Linked DNA regions of Homo sapiens: all the other regions are linked to region 3. The links are contacts of gene promoters, found by promoter capture Hi-C in human tissues and cell types (Jung and others, 2019). All regions are on one chromosome and are shown on one strand. Each heading gives the region's core, a stretch centred on a gene start or on the middle of the fragment in contact. The rest is flanking DNA. Distances are from core to core; before and after follow the strand shown.

Region 1 (3,315 bases), core at 778-3,277, 190 kb before region 3:
CATCTGGGCTAAGGCCACACATGATAACTAAGTTGTCACAATAAGATTCGTTTTGGGAGGCCGAGGTGGGTGGATCACCTGAGGTCGGGAGATCGAGACCATCCTGGCTAACACAGTGAAACCCTGTCTCTACTAAAAATACAAAAAATTAGCCAGGCGTGCTGGTGCATGCCTGTAATCCCAGCTACTGGGGAGCCTGAGCAGGAGAATCGCTTGAACCCGGGAGGTGGAGGTTGCGGTGAGCCGAGATTGCACCATTGCACTCCAGCCTGGGCAACAAGAGCGAAACTCCGTCTCAAAAAAAAAAAAAAAAAAAAAGGATTCTTTTAGGAAAGGACTGGTTTTTTTGTGGTACCCAGCCCAAAGCTAGACCTAACAAATATTTATTCATGGTATGAATACTAGAAAGTTGGAGTCGATTACAGGATCTGGCAGGGTCTTAACTGTGGCTTTGAGAAACACTGAATGCCAGCTGCCCCTTTAGGGAGATCTTGAGCTCCAGATTTCCACCTACTTTAAACCTCCCGCATGCCCCCAATCCTGTTTTGCTTGTTCCTGTTACTAACTGCCCCCTAGAGGTGAGTATGACCCTGGACCCTACTGCCACCTTAATGCCACCATCTGTATGCACTTCATCCTTTTCAAAGTGCCTTCACATAGCATCTTTGGTCCTCATGCTTCCTGCTTCATTCCTAAGGTTACTGTGAGACTATCTGTTAAACCATTCTGGGCAGCACGTACCTGGGGGGGCCACAAAGTACTCCTCCACGACGCGATGGGAGTTTTGTAGTAATTCATCAGCACAGTTGCCTTCTACCACATTGTCGGATCTCAGGTATAGACATCTACAAAACCCAGAAGCTCAAGGTTACCCTCTCAGAGAAGGGGGCTTTTAGGGGATGATGGAGAGGGGCAAGAAGGAGAGAACAAGGAAGCAGTATATTCTTGAGTTAATGGGCACTGTTCAAAGATAGAGAAGCTGGGATCAACAGTAGACCAAATAACAGCCTACAGTTTATAGATTGACCGAACAACCCTGAGAAGTAAGTGCTAATTACTTCTCTGGATTGATTTAACAAATAGTTTTTGATGATTATATGGGCAACTGTCTTTTGGTGGGGACAGGTAAAAGCAATTACAAAAACAATATTTTAAATCTAACAGAGGTTAGTACAGCCTGCCAAAGGATAGAAAGGGTACCTAGTCCAGCCTGCGTGAGTAGCACATCCTCAGAATAGCTGATGTCACTGTTCAAGGATGGGCAAGAAATAGCTGGATTGGGGGATGAAGGTATGAGAAATGGACTTCCTGGCACGTATAGCAGCATGAATCCCAAAGCAATAGAGCCGAGAGCTCAGAGATTCAGAGAAGGACAGGGAGTTTAGCAGGCTGGGGTGTGGTCTGCCGGGGTGGAAGATGAAGCTGGAAAGCTAAGCAGAGATGGGGAAGCAAACTTGCCACAAGAGTAACTTAAGGATGTTGGCTGCTAAGTAACAACTGGGATCTCAGCCCAATCTGATACACCTAAAATGAATGCTTTTTCCACCACAGCCACTTTGGTGGATGTGCCTGCCCTTGAGCAAGATGTGCCACCAACAGCTCAAGAATCTCCCAGTGTTCTGTGGGACCTAGTGACTTTACTAAAGCCTTCAGATGGCAAACCGGTAAAAAACACACAAGAGCTTGAACATTTGCATGAGGCTTCACTATTGTTTCAAGGTGTAAAAGTGTGTAAGCCTGCTTCCAGATACTTAGATTAAAAAAATAAGCAGTCTGTTAAATCACTGATATGGTATTCGGTAGTAGCCACGCTCCTCCTGCTTTGAGTGGGCACAGACTGAGGGCAGACCCTAATGGCGTTTGAGTCATGTCAGAGAGGGACAAAGATGTGACAGGTACATCTGGGCTAAGGCTGCACATAAGAACTAAGTTGTCAGCCGGGCGCGGTGGCTCACGCCTGTAATCCCAGCACTTTGGGAGGCCGAGGTGGGCGGATCACGAGGTCAGGAGATCGAGACCATCCTGGCTAACACGGTGAAACCCCATCTCTACTAAAAATACAAAAAAATTAGCCGGGCGTGGTGGTGGGCGCCTGTAGACCCAGCTACTTGGGAGGCTGAGGCAGGAGAATGGCGTGAACCCGGGAGGCGGAGCTTGCAGTGAGCCGAGATCGCGCCACTGCACTCCAGCCTGGGCGACAGAGCGATACTCTGCCTCAAAAAAAAAGAGAACTAAGTTGTCACAATAAGATTATTTTAGGAAAGGACTAGTTCTTTTTTTGTGGCACCCAGCCCAAAGCTAGACACAACAAATATTTACTCATGGTATGAATATTAGAAAGTTGAAGTCTGTTACAGGACCTGGCACATTCTTAACTGTGTGGCCTTGAACAAGTATGATCTTTTCAGACATTAAATTTCTTGGAGGGGGGCGGCGGGGTGTGGGGGAGAAAGGCCAGGTGTGGTGGCTCTTGCATGTAATCCCAGCACTTTGGAAGGCTAAGGCGGGTGGATCACCTGAATTCAGGAGTTCAAGACCAGCCTGGGCAACGTGGGGAAACCACATCTCTACTAAAAATACAAAAACTAGCCAAGCGTGGTGGCACGCACGTGTGATCCCAACTACTCGGGAGGCTGAGGCGGGAGAATCGCCTGAACCCAGGAGGCGGAGGTTGCAGTGAGCTGAGATGGCACCACTGCACTCAAGCCTGGGCGACAGAGCAAGAAGAAAAAAAAAAAGGCCAGGCACAGTGGCTCAAGCCTGTAATCCCAGCACTTTGGGAGGCCAAAGCAGGTGGATCACCTGAGGTCAGGAGTTCGAGACCATCCAATATGGTGAAACCCTGTCTCTACTAAAAATATAAAAGTTAGCCGGGCATGGTGGTACATACCTGTAATCCCAGCTACCTGGGAGGCTGAGGCACAAGAATCACTTGAATGTAGGAAGCAGAGTTTGTAGTGAGCGGAGATCACACCACTGCACTCCAACCTGGGTGACAGAGTGAGACAGTGTCTCACACACACACACACAAAAGAGAGTTGTACTAGATTTTTTTTTTTTTTTGAATAACACAAGGACTGTATTCATTTAAGAAAACTTGGGAGAACAAAAGTAAAATAAAAATCATAATTATACTATTCAAAGGTAACCCTTGGACTTTCTGGAGTTTATAGTTTCTGTTGGACAGTATTAAAAAATGGCTAAGAGGCCGGGCGCGGTGCCTCATGCCTGTGATCCCAGCACTTTGGGAGACTGAGGCGGGCAGATCACGAGGTCAGGAGATCAAGACCATCCTGGCTGACAGGGTGAAACCCC
Region 2 (3,488 bases), core at 452-2,951, 220 kb after region 3:
AGATCACGAAGTCAGGATTTTGAGACCAGCCTGGCCAACATGGTGAAATGCCGTCTCTACTAAAAATACAAAAATTAGCCAGGTGCGGTTGTGTGTGCCTGTAATCCCAACTACTTGGGAGGCTGAGGCAGGAGAATTGCTTGAACCCGGGTGGTGGAGGTTGCAGTGAGCCGGGATCACGCCATTGCACTCCAGCTCTAGGCACTCCAGCTCTGGGCGACAGAGCAAGACTCTGTCTCGGGGGAAAAGAAAAAAAATCTCCAGGGAAGAGGAAAATGTAAAGTACAACCTTCTCAGATTTGGAAAAGATCCAAGATATCTAGAAATACAAAATAATAACTTAAAATTAAAAACCCAGGCCAGGCCCAGTGGCTCATGTCTGTAATCCCAGCACTTTGGGAGGCCAAGGTGGGAAGATCACTTGAGGCCAGGAGTTCAAGACTAGCCAAGGCAACACTGAAGAATTCTGTCTCTAATAAAAATTAGCTGTGCGTGGCACACAACTGTTAATCCCAGCTACTTGGGAGGCTGAGGCATGAGAATTGCTTGAACCTGGGAGGCAGAGGTTGCAGTGAGCCAAGATCGTGCCACTGCATTCCAGCCTGGGCAACAGAGTAAGACTCTGTCTCAAGCAAAAACAAAAAATGTCACAAAACCCAATGGGTAGTATCAAAATTAAAGACTTCTAAGCATTAGAAGACATCATTAAGAAAACAGATCTAGGCCAGGCGTGGTGGCTCACGCCTGTAATCCCAGCACTTTGGGAGGCTGAGGCAGGTGGATCACGAGGTCAGGAGATCGAGACCATCCTGGCTAACACGGTGAAACCCTGTCTCTACTAAAAACACAAAAAAATTAGCTGGGCGTGGTGGCGGGCACCTGTAGTCCCAACTACTTGGGAGGCTGAGGCAGGAGAATGGCGTGAACCCAGGAGGTGTAGCTTGCAGTGAGCCGAGATCACGCCACTGCACTCCAGCCTGGGCGACAGAGTGAGACTCCATCTCAAAAAAAGAAAAAAAAAGAAAAAAAAAAAAGAGAATAGATCTATAAAGCTCAGACTGGGAGAAAATGTTTATAACACATATATCTGACTTGTATTCAGAATATATAAAAACCTCTAACTCAATAAAAAGACGCGTAATTTTTTAAATGAGCAAAACATTCGAACAGATACTTCAAAGACAAAAATAAATGAATGGCCAATAGGCACATGAAGAAGTGCTCCCCATCATTAGTGACCAGGGAAATGTAAATTAAAACCACAATGAGATACCACTACATACTCATAAGAAGGCTACAATTAAAAGGAACAACAACACAAAATACTGGGAATGTCAACAACTGGAATTCCCACACACTGTTGGTGGGAGTGTAAAATGGCATAACCTACTTTGGAGGAATAAAAAGCTTTCCAGTTTCTTCTTAACCTAATGGACAGAGTTTAAGAACACATGTGACAACTGAAGAGAAAATTACCAAATTGGAAGACTAGTCAGAAGGAATTATCTACACTACAATACAGAGATAAAGATGGAAAATAGAAGCACTACGTTAGTATAGTCCCCATATGTTTAAACTGCAGTTCCAGAAAGGACAGAGTGAATGGGACCGAGGCAATACTTGATGAGATAATGGCTGATAATCTCCTAACAATGAAAGACACCAATTCACAAACTCAAGATGCCCAATGAAAACAAAGCAGAAGAAATAAAACGAAATCCACACCTAGATATATCATAAAGAAACTGCAGAGCGCCAGACTAAGATAATCTGAAAAAGAAGATAAAAGACAACCTTTCCAGAGAAAACACTTGGTTCCCCTAACGACCACAAATACGGCCCATGTTAGCAGATCTCTTTAAAATAAAAAGACACATATAAAAATGTAATATGAAAAGACATTTTCTTGCTGAAATCTTTTAGTACTTCCCTATTACAAACAGGCACAAAAAGCCTTCCAAGGCCAGTCACCTGCCAACCTTCTATCTCCTGTAACTCTGTCCCCTTTATCCTTGTTCTTTCCCTAGGCATGCTTCTTCCCTATTTTTCACAGGACTAACTCTGTCTTTCTAGACTTAGCTATAGCATCATCTCTTCCCAGAAGCTTTCTGTGCTCCTTGGCATTCCAGAGGGACCCTCCTTTGCGTTCTCAGAGCACCCCAGGCACAAACTCTAGCAGAGGACATATTACATTTTATGAGTTATCTTCTTATGAGTCCTTCACCTCATTTGAAGCTTTTTAAGGACAGTGACAGCATCTAATTCATTTTTGCATTCCCAGTAGCTAGTCCAGTACCTGGCCAAGAAATGCCTGAACTGAACTGAATGAAGGATCTTTCAAGGCTGAAACAAACTGTCCTTGAGAAATAAAAGTTTAAAGGTACAGTAGGTAACTACAGAATGAAAATAAGAAAAAAATCTCCAAGAAACTAGAGTAGACACACAGACCCCAAATTAAAAAAAAATGTCAACAAAAGTTTAATAAGCCTTTCTGTGTGGCTAGATTTATCCTAGGTACTGGGGATGAAACAGAGAAGGCAGATCTGGTACCATCTTAGATTTCAAGGATGTCAGAGCTGGACCTTGCCAAAATAAAAGAAAATCAGTTAAGTGAACTCCTTCATTACACAGATGAGGAAACTGAGGCCCAGAGGAGATGCCTTGGTCACAGAGTGAGTAAGGGATAGGTAACCAAATGAGATAGGGAAAAAATGGAAAAGCAAATCACAGGAAACAAGAACCTGTAATTTTTTTTTCCCACATCAGACAGGCAATGTGCTGACACTATAAGGTTTGAGGAAGACACACCTCAAACAAGTGTGAAAGCCCAATCATCATGTTTATGAACTACAAAAAGATCAAGGACCTGTAATTTTAACAGCAATGCACTTGACAGTGAAAGGCTAAAGGAGAAGAAACTAAAACAAAACTTAAGCTTAGCAGAATCCAGATGTTTGCAAATATGGAGGTTGTATTATCTTAACAATCAGGAGAAATAAAGCCTAAGAGTTCAAGGCTACAGCAAGCTATGATCGTGCCTGCAAATAGCTTCTGTACTCCAGCCTGAGCGACACAGTGAGACCTCTCCCTCTTAAAAAAAAAAAGGTAAATTCATAAGACATCAACATCTAGGGAGAAAGGTGAAAGAAAAAAAACTGTGTTGATAACATCAAACAAAGATCAGGAATTTCAGTAATAATGAGGCTGGGGAGAGTGATATAATAATCATAACAAATTTCAGAAAGTGTAAGCTTAGAAAGATTGAGGGAGGAAAGGAGTCATTTGCTTGTTTTTTTTATTTTATTTTTAAAAGACCTTCCATTTTGGAAATATACAAAGTTTCATGTCCCTATGAGAGATATAAACTATAAGACACAATCTTCATTCTTAAGTAGCTGAAGATGAGATGAACCCTTATGAAGCAGCCAATATAAAGCACAGAATAAATATTTGTATAAACTGGCAGGTGACTTGAGAAGTACACAAAT
Region 3 (3,136 bases), core at 100-2,599:
AGGCAGGAGAATCACTTGAACCTGGGAGGCGGAGGTTGCAGTGAGCTGAGATTGCACCACTGCACTCCAACCTGGGCGACAGATTGGGACTCCATCTCAAACAAAAACAAAAACACAAAAACTAAAACAAAATAGAGGTATGTGCAAGATGCTGGAAAACCACGCAATAGAGTGTTTGAGGAACAGTCTTTGGTCTTGAATTTATTATAGGAGAATGTGGCAGCCACAGAAGCTGCTTGGATCTGCCTTTATAAAATGACTGAACATGGTGGGAGCATTGGAACCCGGATACTTCTGCCCAAGGAGACTTCTCATTTTTTTTGTCCTGGAATTCCCTGATGGGTTGACCTGTTTGTCAGATCTGAGTCTCCTTGCCCAACCCTGCTTATTTCCCCTTCTCTGTCACGGGCATTACCCCTAGCTTTATCTCAGCATCTCATCTGCTTTCTGGAGGACCTGATCTGACCCAGAAGGCCTGGATTCTTGAGGGACAAGGGGAACTCGAAGCTGTACTTGCAGAGCAGTTTTATATAAAATCCACAAACTGCCATCACCCATCCCAACGGGTAGGGAAGTACCTCTAGGAGGATTAATTTAGAGAATAGCTATATAGTGTCTGTCTATTCAGACACTCAATAAATGGTAGTTGTTATTATTACCCAATTTCCGAGTGTGTGGGAGCACTGGGTGTGACTTTCCTGTAGTTTTCCCTTTAATGTCTAATCTGGGGACCCCTCTGCCCCATGCAGTTTTGGAAAAGTGTCTAGGGAGGGTGGCTGTGTGGAAGTAATATTAAGAGAGATGGAACCACACAGGTATTGGGTTTGGGCCAGAAAGGGTGAACTGCGAGCTGCACTGCCATTGATCCAGAGGACGACCCCAGGAAAGGTCAGCCACGGGCTCCGGGCCTTGCCTGGTACTGATTTATGGTCCTCCTGGGTGGTGACCTACAGGTGACAGACGGACAGGTGGGCAAAACTGACTGTCCAGTGGACAGGCATGTGATGACCCAGTGGCTGACGAATGCACAGACACATGGCTGACTGTGGACGGATTTGTCATCCGCAGGGTCAGGCAAGTGACTTTGAGAGGGACAGAAAGATGGATGGGAGTGGCTGGAGGCCTGGGAGCCGCCCACCTGCCCGCTTAGCCGCGAGGGGGCGCCACCGCCCCGCCCAGCGACGCCCACTGCCCGGGCTCTTGGCGGGGGCGGGACCAGCGTGCGCAGGGGGCGGGGCCAGCAAGCTCGCGGGGGTGTCCGGGGGCGGGGCGCGCGTGCACAGGGGGCGGCCGGGGGCGGGGCGCGCGGCGGGCGCGGGCGCGGGCGCGCGCGGCGGCGGCGCGTTCCGTTCCGGGCCGAGGCTCGCGGCGGAAAAGTTGCGGGGCATAGACGAGCGGCCCCGGGACGGGCAGCTAGCGCGACCCTGAGCCGGCGCCCGTGGTCCGGCCATGGACGACCTCGGTGAGTGAGCGGGAGGCCGAGGGAGGAGGAGGCGAGAGGCGCGCAGCTTGGGGCCAGGAGGGCGCCAGCGAGCGGCAGGGGCCGCGGGATCCCACCCTCGGCGGCCCCGGCCTCAGCTCCTGTCCCTGCCGGCCGGGGCTCCGCGGGGCTGGGATCCCTAACCGGGCCTTAGTCTCGGGCCAGGCCGGCCCCGGCACCGACCGCACAGCAGCGACCCCCCGTCTGGGACGGCTTCACCTCTGGACCCCCGACCTCGGGGACCCATCACCATCTCCCAGAAGGGCCCCAGGGACCAGCCCGCCCCTCAGGGACCCACCCCGTCCGCTGCAGGGACGAGACTTCCTGCGGCAGACCACCTCGTCAGCTACGGGACCCTCACCTCGCAGACCTCTCCCCACCCCCACCTCACAGATCGACCGCCCAACTCGGGGAGCAGCTGCCCGATCTCATGGGCTGCTCCCTCATTTCCTCGACCTGCTCCCCGTCCCTCCAGGGCCGCCCCCCACTTCACAGACTAGCACCCCCCTTCAGGGATAACCCCTCGGAGCCCACCCCTTTCATTTCACAAGTCAGATGCAAAAGCTAGAGATGAGCGTGTGATGACCACACCCCCATTTCAAAGACAAGTTTCCCAGTCTGCCTGCTCTTCTGACCCCCCACTTCAAATCTGGTCACCCCGTTTCAAGGACCCATCACTCATTTTCTCTCACTGACCTCCCCGCTCTGTGGACCAGCCCCTCAATTCACAGACCAGTCCGTCTACCATGGTATCTAAGTCTAGAACGGTAATTTGGGAGTCCTGATTCTCTCCCCACCCCTAGATTCTGGTGAAATGCCAGGGGAATGAGGTGGAAGGTGGGCCCCAAGGTATGACCATCCCTGAACGTGTCCTGGCTAGCAGAGTCCCCTCCACCCTCTCTGCGTCAGGCCCTGCTGGAAGCCACGCAGGTGAAAGAGGACAGGATGCCCAGAACAGAGTTTTACTGTTTTCCTGTTATTGGAGCCCCAAGGCTACTCTTTTCAGTCCAGTCTTGATCTGGTGTTAGGGGAAAGAAAGTATCTCCTGGAAGCCGACTCTAAACCCAAGGGGGTTGGTGCCAGGGTTCTAGGAATGCCTTGGGTGGCGTGAACGCAGGAGTGGGAGGATTCGCTGTCTCTCCCTCCCCTTCACGCCTGTAGCTGGAGGGCCCTGAGCTTGGGAGGTGAGGAGGGGGGCAACGTTTCTTCTCTGCAGGAGCCTTGTCTTTCCTCTCTGGACTGTGGGTGGCTTGTGTGACCACTGATGCTTCCTCTGTCCCAGGCTCTGAGGAGTAGATTCAGCAGACAGGACTGATGGACCTCTACCAAGCAGCGCCGGGCACTAAGTTAAGACTGGCTATTTGTAGGTGCTGGACTTGACTGCTTCCCTCCAGCTTCCTTTTGGGATCAGGGTGCCCCTGAGATCCTGGAGCTGGGGTTGGTGTAGGGTCCTGCCTGTTTTGCAGAGTGAGATGGCTGCCAAGCGTGGTTCTGCCTTTGGGTCAGGCTTGGCACCCATTTTTCCAGTGTGCTCAAGGTTGGCATGGCTTCCAGGCAGGTATTTTTTTTTTTCACATAAAAATAGCTCAGCTGGAAGGAGGCTGGGGGATGTTCTTTGAACCAGGATCTAAGAGTCTGAGTGCTTTCCCAGTGGGA

Evidence for each region. The method cuts DNA at HindIII sites, captures the fragments that hold promoters and counts their contacts. A contact is called where the count stands out against the background at its distance.
Region 1: a contact is called between a fragment that was not itself captured here and the fragment with the promoter of PXN in region 3, in 1 of the 25 tissues and cell types used here (liver).
Region 2: a contact is called between a fragment that was not itself captured here and the fragment with the promoter of PXN in region 3, in 3 of the 25 tissues and cell types used here (dorsolateral prefrontal cortex, hippocampus and pancreas).

Annotation. Positions count from the first base shown.
Region 1 is chr12:120,454,606-120,457,920 of GRCh38, reverse strand. GATC (glutamyl-tRNA amidotransferase subunit C) reads right to left here. Exons shown (of 4, transcript NM_176818.3): 3 at 742-845. Among named protein-coding and RNA genes, the nearest start is that of GATC, 9.8 kb to the right of the region's middle. The HindIII fragment of the contact is 8,224 bases long and covers 1-3,315 here.
Region 2 is chr12:120,047,801-120,051,288 of GRCh38, reverse strand. The region is part of intron 2 of BICDL1 (BICD family like cargo adaptor 1); the gene reads right to left. It overlaps LOC124903114 (small nucleolar RNA U13), which reads right to left and starts at 2,859; the gene lies at 2,761-2,859. The HindIII fragment of the contact is 5,126 bases long and covers 1-3,488 here.
Region 3 is chr12:120,263,943-120,267,078 of GRCh38, reverse strand. It overlaps PXN (paxillin), which reads left to right and starts at 1,349. Exons shown (of 15, transcript NM_001385981.1): 1 at 1,349-1,462. The coding sequence starts at 1,450. RefSeq lists silencers at 1,042-1,321, 1,482-1,631. The HindIII fragment of the contact is 15,906 bases long and covers 1-3,136 here.